Regions from separate parts of the Homo sapiens genome. Here all the other regions are linked to region 3. Evidence: promoter capture Hi-C in 16 types of primary human blood cells and fetal thymus (Javierre and others, 2016). All regions are on one chromosome and are shown on one strand. Each heading gives the region's core, a stretch centred on a gene start or on the middle of the fragment in contact. The rest is flanking DNA. Distances are from core to core; before and after follow the strand shown. Region 1 overlaps PPP1R9B (protein phosphatase 1 regulatory subunit 9B). Region 2 holds the start of PDK2 (pyruvate dehydrogenase kinase 2). Region 3 holds the start of TMEM92-AS1 (TMEM92 antisense RNA 1). Region 4 overlaps ITGA3 (integrin subunit alpha 3).

Region 1 (3,290 bases), core at 150-2,649, 160 kb before region 3:
ACAACCAGCTACCGCACGTCACAGCTTGGCAGGTGCCAGGCGCTCTCAGATCATCTATTGTCACCCTCACAATAAACCCACAAGGTGGGTGTTTCCATTACCCACTGCCTCAGAGAAAACAGAGACTTAGAAGAAGGAAAGTGCTTTGCTCAAGAGCAAGTGGTGAAAGGCCAGGCGCAGTGGCTCACGACTGTAATCCCAGCACTTTGGGAGGCCAAGGTGGGTGGATTACATGAGGTCAGGAGTTCGAGACCAGCCTGGCCAACATGGTGAAACCCTTGTCTCTACTAAAAATACAAAAATTAGTCAGGCATGGTGGCGCTACTCTGGAGGCTGAGGCATGAGAATTGCTTGAACCTGGGAGGTGGAGGTTGGAGTGAGCTGAGATTGTGCCACTGCCTTTCAGCCTGGCCAACAGAGTGAAACTCAAATCTCAAAAAAAAAAAAAAAAAAAAAAAAAAAAAAAAAAAAAAAAGGCAAGTGGTGAAGCTGGATCAGGGGTCTAGAGTCAGAGGAGAGGTGTGGAGTCTATAGGACAGAGTTCCCTGATGGCCCACAGGACTCTGCAGTCCGAGGCCTCCGGGAAGTGGCCTGTTGAACCAGGACAATCTTGTGACTATGAGTGAGGACAGAATTAACAGCCTTTAGGGTCTGAGGGTATCCTAGGGGATTTATAGGAGTTTGGGGGTCTCTGGGTGTCTTCAGAATCTTCTGGCAGCCATGAGGCTAGATTGTGGAAATCTGGGGAAGGGGTGGGGTTTCTGTTGACAGCTGTGGGGGCTGCATCTGGCTGTCTTAAAGGGGTTGTGCTTTGTAGGCATCTGGTGAGATCTGAGTGGTGGGCTGTAGTGGGGGGCTTGATTATATAGACCCTGTACATCCCAAGGGGGTGGGGAGATGATGGGTATGTTTGCCAGGCCATAGGACCCAGGAGGAGCCCCTGTTCCCCTATTCCTAGTGAGGCCTAAGCTTCTGAGGGTTGGCAATAAGTTGCCTTATTGGCAAGTGTTGGCAAACCTACTCAAGCTTCCAAAATTGGGCAAGTGAGTGGGGGGATAAGGAGGGTTTAAGGTGACAGGCCCACTTACAGCTACTTGACAAAGTCCCAAACATGGACATACTGTGTATCATGGGCAAGTCACAGCTCAGGCTTGAGAAACTCACAGCAAAGCCACACACACCTCCAGGCACACAACACACTTGGGCTTAAATGTGAGGGGTTACTTGGCCCACTGTTTGAAACATACTATGTATAGGCCCCTCACCTAACACACAGGACAGACGGGGAGTGGGGGAGGGACAGAGGGACCCCGCCCTGGATGCTTAGCCCCCATCGGCCCAGCAGAAACCCTCGAAACCTTCATGCCTGCCTCCCCACCCAGATTAAGACTACAGATTACAGGAAGGTCATGCCACTTCACTTCTTGGCTAGGTTTCCTGAGCAGGGCCTTGGTGGCCCTGGGGTTCAGTGACTTCTAACTCTGGAGCCATGACCTCTGACCCTGTGGTTTGGTGGTCTCTGATCTTGGGGATCAGACACCTTGATCCGTCTTCAGCATCCTTAGGGCTCCCAGAGTGTTCCAACAATCGTCCACATAGCAAAGATGCCTTGGGAAGAGTATTCACTATCCCCAGGTTTCCAGGCAACCCTCAGGTGGGAGGCAGGATTGGACTGGCCTGAGGTGTAGACCTAGGGTTTTTGAGGGATAGCTATGGGAAGCCAGAATTTGGCTTAGCATGAATGTGACCTGTGTGACACAGCCATCTACAAGGGAAGCTTCTGGAGCAGACTGTCCCTGGGGGTGCTGCCACTCATCTGGATGTTGTTAAGGACCCACCAAGGTGACCTTGAAGGGCTCTGAAGTTGGGACTTCATTCCTTATGGCAAAGGTGAGAATTCCCTAGTGCCACACCACTGAGTGCAAGTGCCTCCATGCTTCAGGTCTCTGACATCTGCACACCAGCACCCCGGCAAGGAAAGGCTGGCCCTGGGGCCTGCCATAAGCTCCTGCCCCATTCCCTGCTGGCTCTCACCCCTCTGGGACTTCACCAAAGCTTGTCCCTGGAACTCTGGCACCTAGACTCCCAGACCCATTAGCATTTGAGCTGGTGAGTCAGCACACAGGCCTGCTGGCCCAGCACAGGGGCTGGGGCTATTTCAGGCCACTTGGCCCGCCCCAAAGGGCAAACAGATCCTCTAGGACCCTGGGTACTAAACTGCCAGGCAGTCACCTCCCACCCCCAGCAATCCTTTGATCCTTTACCTGCCTCACACCGGGTGCCTCTTGAGAGTGTCCCCACAGTTTAAAGGCCTTCTGGGGGAGGGACTTGGGGTTCACCTTGCTGTATTTAGCCCATCCTTTGAACTTCTTAGAGGCCCTGAAAAACGAATGCAGACTAAACAAACTCTCTAGAAACCCTCAGCCCTGCCCAGGAGGACTGGACAAAAAGCATGGGTGCTGATGGCTGGAATGGGGGCAGAAAAGCAGTTTGCTGGAACCGGAAACGGGGGGACACTGTAGGAAGTTCCTCAGGGTTAGAGGCAGCACTGGTGGGAGGGGACCACTGGGGCAGCCTGGCATCCTTGATCCCTGCCCACTCCCCACCTCAGTGAATCAAGAAACCAGGCAGCAAGGCTCTGGGGGCTGCTTTTATGGGGACGACCTGACAGAGGGCATGGTCCGTACAAAACCGGGAACAATACATACATATATATATTATATACAGAGATGCGGCCCTCCCGACGGCTGGGCAGGGGTGGCCGCTGGCCCAAGCAGCCCGAAGCGGCCCCGCCCACCCGGTTCCGCCCCCTCCATCTGCCGGGGTGAAGTGCGCGAGCCCAGGACTGAGACAGCCAGCTCCTTCAGGGGATGGGGGCACATCTGGGGATAGGAAGGGGTGGGGACAAGAAATACTGATCGAAGTCATGGTCTATTTACAGGGGACAAGAAGCCAAAACGGATGGGATGGGTGGTCTGTTTTTAAAAAATGAACAAAAACCCAGTTAGGGCAGGGGCATGAAGTGGCAAAATGAGATGGATTTTGAAAGGGGAGGGGACCTGGGGGAGGTGGTCTCACCTCCCTTGGTCCAAGCCCCAATTTGGGGTTAAAGTGGGGAAACAGAGTCGATTTCACTTAGAAGGCAGGCTGCCAGCAGGGCAGCCCTGGTCTCCAAAAAGATGAGTAGTAGTAAAATTTTGCCCTCCAGTCAAAACATTGGAAAACCAGTAGGGGGTGGGGGCGAGGCTGACTCCCTGCAATGTCAGTAGGCTTCCAGGCATCGCCCTGGG
Region 2 (2,878 bases), core at 79-2,578, 190 kb before region 3:
AGCAAGGAAGTAATAAGGTCAGATTTGCAGTTGAGAATGATCCCTGAGTCTCGGTTTTCTTATCTATGAAATGAGGCTAAGAATAATAAAATAGAGAATTAAATGAGATAATGCCTGTAAACAGTGCCTGGCATATAGCTTATTATTCATCCAGCTAAGAGGCCCTTCCATATGTGAAGCTTTGCTCTGTGAGGTCTGTATTACAATCACATTCAGTTATAGCTAATTATTTACTTATGTAGCTATCTCTGAAACTTAGAAATGAAATCATCGAGGAAAAAGGCCATTTCTTGATCCTGTCTGTGTTCCCTGTTCCCAGCATAAAGCCTAACACGTATTAGGCTAATGTCACCGAGCAAAGAAAGCATCAAAGTGGCGGGTCGGGCCCTAAACCCACGATGGGAGATACCACATTCGGCCACAAGAGGGCGCGTCACATTTTCTCCAAGAGAAGCTGGGCCGCTGATGAAGGACGGGCTCCGGGCCTCCCAGAGACACTTCACCTCCTGGGATCTTGCTCTAAGGAAGCCCGGTGCGAAGGAGGTGGCTTTCTCAGGTGGTCGCGCTAGATGTCCAAGGCTTTATGTTCGGTCAGATGAGCTGTATAATAAAATGAAAGTGTTAACTGGCATGGACGATAGCTGCTGCCTCCACCGCCACTAGTAGTGATGGTTTTTACTCTGGATGTTTTTCAGTTGGAAAAGCAAACTCCGCCTTTTCCTGAGCCGCTTGGATCTTTGTGGAAGCGGGTGGGCTGCATATATACAGGACGGATTCGTATAGGCTTGCACCCTGGTTCCGAATTTTGCAAATATTCGCAGTCTGGGTCACTGTCATCCGGACTGGGAATCCCCAAGACCCGTTAAGGGAGGATAGGTAACGATCATGACAGGTGAAACAGGTACCTTTGAGTTGGAGAAAAGGGATTGGTTGAAAGCTACCTAGACAACTCTGGAAAGGAAGGGTTAAAAGGAGCCTGCAGGTGAAGGAGATGCGAGGGGGTAGCAAGGGAAAGGCAGGCGTGGAAGAGGAAGCGAAAGGGCTGGCGGGGCTCTGGGAAGGAAGGGGTTAACCCGGGCTTCGCCCCGCGGAGGAAAGGGAGGAGTGAACACAGGGGAGGTGGGAACTCGGCGCGGCCTCCCCAAAACAACAGGCCGCCCCGGCAAAGCGTGGGTTAAGGGGGCGGGCCCGGGGGAAGCCACGTGCCGGGGCGGAAGGCTATTGGTTCGCCCGGAGTTGTTTGTGAGTGGCCATTGGCGACGTCGAGGCGCCATGACGAGCCGATTGGCTGGGCGTTGGAATGCCCGCCAGGGCAAGGGTAGGGAGGAGGCGGCCGAACCGCGTCGCTGGGCCGAAAGGTGCGCGAGCGCTGCCCGCGCGGGGACCACAACCAAAGTCGCGGCCGCCGCAGCCATGCGCTGGGTGTGGGCGCTGCTGAAGAATGCGTCCCTGGCAGGGGCGCCCAAGTACATAGAGCACTTCAGCAAGTTCTCCCCGTCCCCGCTGTCCATGAAGCAGTTTCTGGACTTCGGTACGGAGTGGGCGGGAGGCGGCTGGCAGCGGAGGCCGGCGGGGCGCTGGGAGGGGCAGCCGGGGGCTAGGGGGACGGAGGAGAAGAAAGGCCCCGAGTGACAGAGAAGGGTTGTTTGGAAAGGTACAGGCAGGAAAGAGTTAATGGGGAAGCAGGAACCGGCCGGGGCCTCTCGACGGGGCTGCTGATGGGAATGGGGGGCATTTACAAGGACGGTCCCGAGGTTTCTTCGTGGGCCTCATGAAGGGTCTTGAAGAGTAAGGGGCAGTGAAGCTGTGATGTTACTGCAGGAAGGGAGTAGGGTGGTATCCAGACGCGAAAGGGTTAATGGGAGTTGTCCTCATGACTGGAGGAGTAGGGGCCCCTCCTCCCACCAGAGGAAACCGGGGGTCTGCTGGTGGGAGTGAGGAGGCAGGGTTTAGAGGTGCAGCCATCTGTAGAGAGACCTGGACTGGGCATGAAGGGTCAGACACCCCTGGGCAGAGGGTGAGATTAAGCCAGGGGCAGTTGGGGAAGGGGGCTCTTTCAGAAGATGCCATTGGGAGACAGTGCCCTGACTGGTAGACATCCACCCACAGAAGGAGCTGGACCCTAGCTGCCCCAGTGGGCAAGGACACTTGAAGATCAAATCTGTTCCGGCCTGGCAGCCTCTCCCCAGCTGGGCAGGGGCCCCAGGCACCGTGATGTGGAGTCAAGCCGCCTATACCTCCCTTGGCTGCCCCAGGGCTGCTAGGTCAGGATCGCCCACTACCAGCAACCTGGGGGTGGCCCTGGGGCAGGAGGGAGGCTGTGCCAACGTGGCAGCTGAAATGGGCATTGTGTGGGCCCTGTCTGTCTATGTGGTATTTCCATGGTGCCAGCTGGGGACTGGGGGTGGGGGGCAGTCTCTCAAGAGTTGAGTTGATAGTGCCTAGCTTGGGTTGCAGCTGCGTCAATGATGGGACGGGAACAGAGAGGTGGCAGCCGAGACATAAGGCACCTGTTCCTCAGGACTTGTCTGCCTGCACCCCTGCCCTGCCTGAGTCTTGAGCCTCCCCCATGTAGGAAAGCCTCCTGGGCCCACCCCTAGCCCCCAGCAGCTGTCCCCACAAACTGCACCCTAATTACAGAAACATCACAGCTGTGAGGGGCTCACAGTAGAGTTTGGTCAACTTGTAGTACTATGGGGGAAACTGAGACCTTCAAAAGGATGATGGCATGGCCTGGGTGACAGAGTTGGAAGCAGAGCCTGATGGACTGGAACCCAGGGCCCCTGACCCTGGGCCAAGGCCATATTCGGTCCCCCACCCTTTCCATCTTGACACCAGACAAGGACCGAGGCATTTGGACTCCTGTTCTCAGGCCCGT
Region 3 (2,979 bases), core at 188-2,687:
AAACTAGAATGATCTCATCTCAAGATCCTTATCTTAATTACACTTGAAAAGACCCTTATTTCAAATAAGGTCACACTCGTAGGTTTTGGCTGAAGATACATAATTTAACCCACGAGGGAGGATATATTTCTAGGCATTTAATCTGGGTGGGATCCCTGAGGCAGGAGGACCTCAGAGGTCACCTGAAAAAGCATATCTCTAAGCATATTCCCTGAAAAACTAGTTCCAAGTGATTTTTTTTCTAGAGGATTTTTTTAAGGGTGGGGGGAGCATTCTGTGTTCAGATAAATTTGGAAAATGCTGCGTATACCTCCCACACTAGAAGATTCACAGTTCACCTTAGTGTATTAAAGGGCTGAGAATTCACGGTAAAGAAGCATTATGTATTTATGGAAAGCATCATTTCCCTAGTTTATTTCACCATAAAACCCCATTTTCTTTCTCATAATCTCCGTAGCATTTTCAGATCATATCAGCCTGTGGAAATTCAAGAGGAATGTTGATGTGAGCCAACCTTGTCTTACTTTAGCTGAGAAGATCAACATCCAGAAAAGGACAAATGACTTATCCAAGGTCACACTGCTGAGAGGGTCGGAAGTTGATTTAAAACTCAGCCTCCTCAAAATGATAGCGATGGAGACACATTAGTTGTTGATGGGGAGAGAGTGGGTATGGCTACACAGAGGTCTCACCAGAGAGATCTGTTTGGTGGGGGAGCAGTTCTGCATTTTACTTGAAGAGGTAGTAGTTACACAAATTTGCATGTGATAAAACAACACAGAATTAGGCACACACATTATACCCACGTCAGTTTCCTGGCTTTGATACTTTACATAAGATGTAACCCTTGGAGGGCCTGGCACGGTGGCTTACCCCTGTAATCCCAGCACTTTCGGAGGCTGAGGTGGGCAGATCACCTGAGGTCAGGAGTTTGAGACCAGCCTGGCCAACATAGTGAGACCCCGTCTCTACTAAACATACAAAAATTAGCCAGGAGTGGTGGCACGCACCTGTGCCAGCTACTCCAGAGGGTGAAGCAAGAGAATTGCTGAAACCCAGGAGGCGGAGTTTGCAGTGAGCTGAGATCACACCACTGCATTCTAGCCTCGGGGACAAGAATGAAACTCCATCTCAAAAAAAAAAAAAAAAAAAAGAGATGTAACCCTGTAACCCTTGGAGGTCAGGTGCCTCCTGCCTGTAATCCCAGTGCTTTCGGAGGCTGAAGCAGGAGGGTTGCTTGAGCCCAGGAGTTCAAGACAAGTCTGCGCAATATAGTGAAACCCCGTCTCTATAAAAAATTAGCCAGGCATGGTGGCACATACCTGTAGTCCCAGCTCAGGGGCTGGGACTATGGGACTACTTGGGAGGCTGAGGTGGGAGGATCGCTGAAGCTCAGGAGTTTGAGGTTGCAGTGAACTATGGTCATGCCACTGCACAGCAGCCTGGGCAACAGAGCAAGGACCTGTCTGGAAAAAAAAATTGAGAGAAATTTGGCAAAGAAAATTGGGACCACTTTGTACTATCTTTGCAACTTCCTGTGAATCTATAATAATTTCAAAATAAAAAGTATGAAAAACTGGTTTCCTGTCTCCAGGTTCCAGAGCTTTTAACACTGTCAAAGGTCATTAGATCAAATTTAGGTTTATGCTCTGCTATTCATATGCTTCTAGTACCCAATAAAAAGCACTGTTTATGGGCTGGGTGCAGTGGCTCATGCCTGTAATCCCAGCGCTTTGGGAGGTTGAGGCAGGCAGATTACCTAAGGCCAGGATTTTGAGACCGGCCTGGCCAACATGGTGAAACCCCATCTGTACTAAAAATAGAAAAATTAGCTAGGCATGGTGGCACACACCTGTAGCCCCAGCTACTTGGGAGGCTGAGGCAGAAGGATCACTTGAGCCTGGGAGGTCGAGACTGCAGTGAGCTGCGATCACTTTGGAGGCTCAAGAAGACAATTTTGTGTTTTGACACAGCAATAGCAGAACTTTCATCAACAATTAGATTCAGAACAGGTTATACTGCACACATTTTTGCCACATGCCCAGCCATCTGGCTTCTCTTGGAATTGTCTCCATCTGCCCCCACCCCCACCCTCATTCACATAATGACTGTGGAACTGGGGGCAGCCATTTGATCCTACTTCTCTGGCTACGGTTGACTGGTTCAGGGGTGGGCACTGATCCAATCTGGGCCAATCAGAGCCCTTCCCTGAGAATTTTCTATTTGGAGCTCAGGGAATCTGTCCGATCCTAGATTGCTCAGGTAGTAAAAGTGTGAGATGGAGATGGGGCCACTGGTGGCCATGTTAGCCCCTTATGTGAAAAAACCTGGTTGAGTGAGAAGGAATGAAGCCAACATTCAAAGGAAAGTAAAGACAGGAGACAGAGAGAAAGTCCTGTTAACCTTGCGATGCCTGTTTCTGTTTGTTTCTGAAATCCAGCTGCCTTACTATGGCCTAGCTACTCCTCCCTTCCTTGGCAACCAAAAAGCTAACACATCTCTCATTTGGGCTGGGGGGTGTTGTTTTGTTTTGTTTTGTCTTAGTTTTCATTGTTTCAGACAAGGTCTTTCTCTGTCACCCAGGCTGGAGTGCAGTGGTGTGAACACAGCTCACTGCAGCCTCGACCTCCCAGGCTCAAGTGAACCTCCTGCCTCAGCCTCAGCCTCCCCAGTAGCTGGGATGACAGACACATGCCATCAAGCCTGGCTAATTTTTAAAATTTTTTGTAGAGATGAGGTCTCACTACGTTGCTGACTGGCCTAGAACTCCTGGGCTCAAGCAATCCTCCTTCCTCACCTTCCCAAAGTGCTGGGATTACAGGTGTGAGCCACAGCACCCAGTGACATCTCTTATTTTGCTCAAGCTAGTTTGAGTTGGTTTATCATCACTTGCAATCCAAAGAGCCTAAAGTAGCCTATAGACCAACTCCCTCATTTTACAGATGAAGAAATGGATCCTGAGAAAGTCCATGACATCCC
Region 4 (3,058 bases), core at 121-2,620, 210 kb before region 3:
TTGGTGAGATTGTTCTGCCCACCTACTCCTCATTTATTTATAGGGAGGCTAGGAGGGGCTGCAGCTCCCAAACCCCTCCCCTGGCCTCCTGACATCCCACCTTTAGAAATTTGATTCTTGGGGCCAGCATTTGCCCTCTCTACCCAACCTCATTAAAAAGCAAAATTCCTTGTAAGAGGTAATGGATGAAGTCGGGGGCAGTAGAGTATAGTGGTTCAAGGTGGGAGCTCTGGACGGCCTGGTTCAAATCCCAGCTATGCCAGTGCAGGGGTGGGGATGGGCTCTGGAAAGGGGGACGCATTTAAGTGGATGGATATGGAGGAGAGTCTCCTCAGGTGAATTATTAATCCCTCTTAGGCTCAGATTTCTTGCTTGTAGAACAGAATTGATAATAACTGATTCACAGGGTTGTTGTGATAATTAAATGAGAAAATATACAGAAAGTCCTTAGCACAGCACTGTGTATACCCTAAGTGCTCAAAAAATGTTAGTTGCTAAGAAAGTGACAGTAATGATGGCGATGACCCCAAGGTCTTTAAGTGAATGAGGATTTTGGATCAGAAGACAAAGGCAGACAGAGCAGGGAAATGGGGTGGTTGGTGCAAGGAGACCTGGACTGGGGATTGGCCGACCTAGGTTCAAGACTGGGCTGGGCCACCAACTGACTGAGGACTTCAGACAAGTCCTTCTGGGCCCTAGGCCTCAGTTTCCCCATTAGTGACCTCTAACCCTGTTCTCTTTGGCTTTAAGGGGAGTGGAAGGGAAGGGGTCAGGGACACCACAGACCTGCTTTGTGGACTCCCCAGTTTTGTCCCTGCCTCTCTCCAGAAGGGCCTCGGTTTCCTTTTGCCCAGTACAGAGGCGAGAGCTAGGGCCTGGACGTGTGTGTCCCACTGTGACCCGCCCTCCTGTACATCCCTCCAACAGTGTGCAAGTGGAGCTGTGCTTTGCTTACAACCAGAGTGCCGGGAACCCCAACTACAGGCGAAACATCAGTGAGTGCTGGGGTGCAGCGTAAAAGGGGTACGCTCCCCTGTCCCCTTGCTGACCACCCTGTCTACCTGTAGCCCTGGCCTACACTCTGGAGGCTGACAGGGACCGCCGGCCGCCCCGGCTCCGCTTTGCCGGCAGTGAGTCCGCTGTCTTCCACGGCTTCTTCTCCATGCCCGAGATGCGCTGCCAGAAGCTGGAGCTGCTCCTGATGGTGAGGGAGGAGCAAGGGTCAGGATGAGGGCTCCCAGGTCCCTGGAGGAGGTGGCCAGTGTCCCCCTAGATCAAGGGTGAGGGACGGGGGTCTCCCCAGAGACAGAGGTTGGGGACATCGGTTTGGAAGGCTATTGGTGTGTAGGAGTACAGTGTACAGCACCCACACATGAGGAGTGATGGAGACCCTTGGGGTGGGGATGGGGCCAAAGGGCTTATTACCTCCAAGGAAAGTGAGGAGTGTGGGAGCTCTTGGCTCAGCCCACCTCTGGGAAAAGGGGTCCCTGAGTAGGGAGCAAGGTCAGTCCCTCTCTGGGACATCAGGGTGGAAGGGGAGAGCTCAACCTGGAGACCCTGTGGATGGGGAGGTGAAGGGACTTTTGAGGAGGAGAAGCCCTGTCTCTCCTCTTGGAGGGTCAGGATAGTAGGAAGTCGCAATTTGGCGACCGGACTGGAGGGAGTTCAGCCTAACTGTCAGGTTTTCAGGGTGGGGGGCGGGTCCAGCTCTTCTCTGGGGTTCAGGGTGGTGTGAGGATTCAGCTGGGGCAGGGAGCAGTGCAGGGCCGGGCTCAGCTCACCCTCTCTCCCCAGGACAACCTCCGTGACAAACTCCGCCCCATCATCATCTCCATGAACTACTCTTTACCTTTGCGGATGCCCGATCGCCCCCGGCTGGGGCTGCGGTCCCTGGACGCCTACCCGATCCTCAACCAGGCACAGGCTCTGGAGAACCACACTGAGGTGAGTGGGGCTGGCGCCTGGACTGGAAGACCAGGGGCCAGAAGGGCGGTGGGGCGAGAGGGCACTGGGGGGGGTGGTGCGGCCTTCACACCTCCGGCCACCCCCCAGGTCCAGTTCCAGAAGGAGTGCGGGCCTGACAACAAGTGTGAGAGCAACTTGCAGATGCGGGCAGCCTTCGTGTCAGAGCAGCAGCAGAAGCTGAGCAGGTGGCTGTGGGCCGCCGGCCGCGTTAATCGGCCAAGGGTGGGACGGGGCCTCATTAACTGGCAGGGTGGGGGCGGGGCCTCATGGCAAGGCGAGCCCAGGGACAGGGCTTTAGCGGGAACAGGTGGGATGGTCAGAAACGGGGCTTTCTCCTCCAGGTGCGACTAGAGGACGGGGCCTGGCTGTCCCAAGATGGGCTTTTCTCACCTAGGAGACCCCAGGGGCGGGGCCTAGTTGATCCGGGAGTGCCCTGGGGGCGGGGCTCTTGGCTGAGTCCTGGGCTCCTGCTCTCAGGCTCCAGTACAGCAGAGACGTCCGGAAATTGCTCCTGAGCATCAACGTGACGAACACCCGGACCTCGGAGCGCTCCGGGGAGGACGCCCACGAGGCGCTGCTCACCCTGGTGGTGCCTCCCGCCCTGCTGCTGTCCTCAGTGCGCCCCGTGAGTGCCCGCCGGCCGGCTCAGAGCCCAAGCAGGGCTCCCCGCGTCTTTGCATCCCCATATCCATGTCCTGTGCAGGTGTTGTCGTCTGCCACGTGCCCACCTCCTCTGGTCTGGGCCTTCTTGGGGGCCTTAGCGTCTCTGCTGCTTGGAGAATCCGGCTCTCAAGCTCTAGGGCTTCTGACCTTGCACCACAGAGGAGGGAGGACAAGCCCTACTTTGACCCGACCCTGACCTTATTCGCCTTCTTTCCTCAGCCCGGGGCCTGCCAAGCTAATGAGACCATCTTTTGCGAGCTGGGGAACCCCTTCAAACGGAACCAGAGGGTGAGCACCGGCCACATCCTCCCAGTCCTCCTGGGTCCCTGGCTGCACCTCTGATGAGCTCCTTGTCCTTCCAGCCTCTGCCTGCCTGCTTTCTGGGCTCCCTCGAAGTGGAGAGCCACAGTGCGGGAGGAGAGACTCAGTA

The links. Contacts are between HindIII fragments. The CHiCAGO score rates a contact against its expected background, and 5 or more counts as called.
Region 1: a fragment that was not itself captured here is called in contact with the fragment with the promoter of TMEM92-AS1 in region 3 in 1 of 17 cell types (naive CD4 T cells); the score reaches 5.1 in naive CD4 T cells.
Region 2: a contact is called between the fragment with the promoter of PDK2 here and the fragment with the promoter of TMEM92-AS1 in region 3, in 1 of 17 cell types (naive B cells). The highest score is 6.1, in naive B cells.
Region 4: a fragment that was not itself captured here is called in contact with the fragment with the promoter of TMEM92-AS1 in region 3 in 1 of 17 cell types (naive B cells); the score reaches 5.2 in naive B cells.

The regions. Positions count from the first base shown.
Region 1 is chr17:50,131,100-50,134,389 of GRCh38, forward strand. It overlaps PPP1R9B (protein phosphatase 1 regulatory subunit 9B), which reads right to left. Exons shown (of 10, transcript NM_032595.5): 10 at 2,638-3,290. Among named protein-coding and RNA genes, the nearest start is that of SAMD14, 2.6 kb to the left of the region's middle. RefSeq lists enhancers at 1,311-2,053, 1,934-2,003, 2,054-2,795. The HindIII fragment of the contact is 751 bases long and covers 1,025-1,775 here.
Region 2 is chr17:50,094,023-50,096,900 of GRCh38, forward strand. PDK2 (pyruvate dehydrogenase kinase 2) reads left to right here and starts at 1,329. Exons shown (of 11, transcript NM_002611.5): 1 at 1,329-1,531. The coding sequence starts at 1,414. LOC124904024 (a long non-coding RNA gene) reads left to right here. Exons shown (of 2, transcript XR_007065837.1): 2 at 320-631. RefSeq lists enhancers at 488-697, 1,729-2,244, 2,245-2,760 and a silencer at 1,078-1,197. The HindIII fragment of the contact is 3,439 bases long and covers 178-2,878 here.
Region 3 is chr17:50,286,418-50,289,396 of GRCh38, forward strand. It overlaps TMEM92-AS1 (TMEM92 antisense RNA 1), which reads right to left and starts at 1,438. Exons shown (of 4, transcript NR_125805.1): 1 at 1,323-1,438. The HindIII fragment of the contact is 15,975 bases long and covers 1-2,979 here.
Region 4 is chr17:50,074,532-50,077,589 of GRCh38, forward strand. ITGA3 (integrin subunit alpha 3) reads left to right here. Exons shown (of 26, transcript NM_002204.4): 10 at 1-3; 11 at 928-995; 12 at 1,068-1,204; 13 at 1,795-1,944; 14 at 2,053-2,150; 15 at 2,443-2,590; 16 at 2,848-2,916. Among named protein-coding and RNA genes, the nearest start is that of PDK2, 19 kb to the right of the region's middle. The HindIII fragment of the contact is 5,559 bases long and covers 1-3,058 here.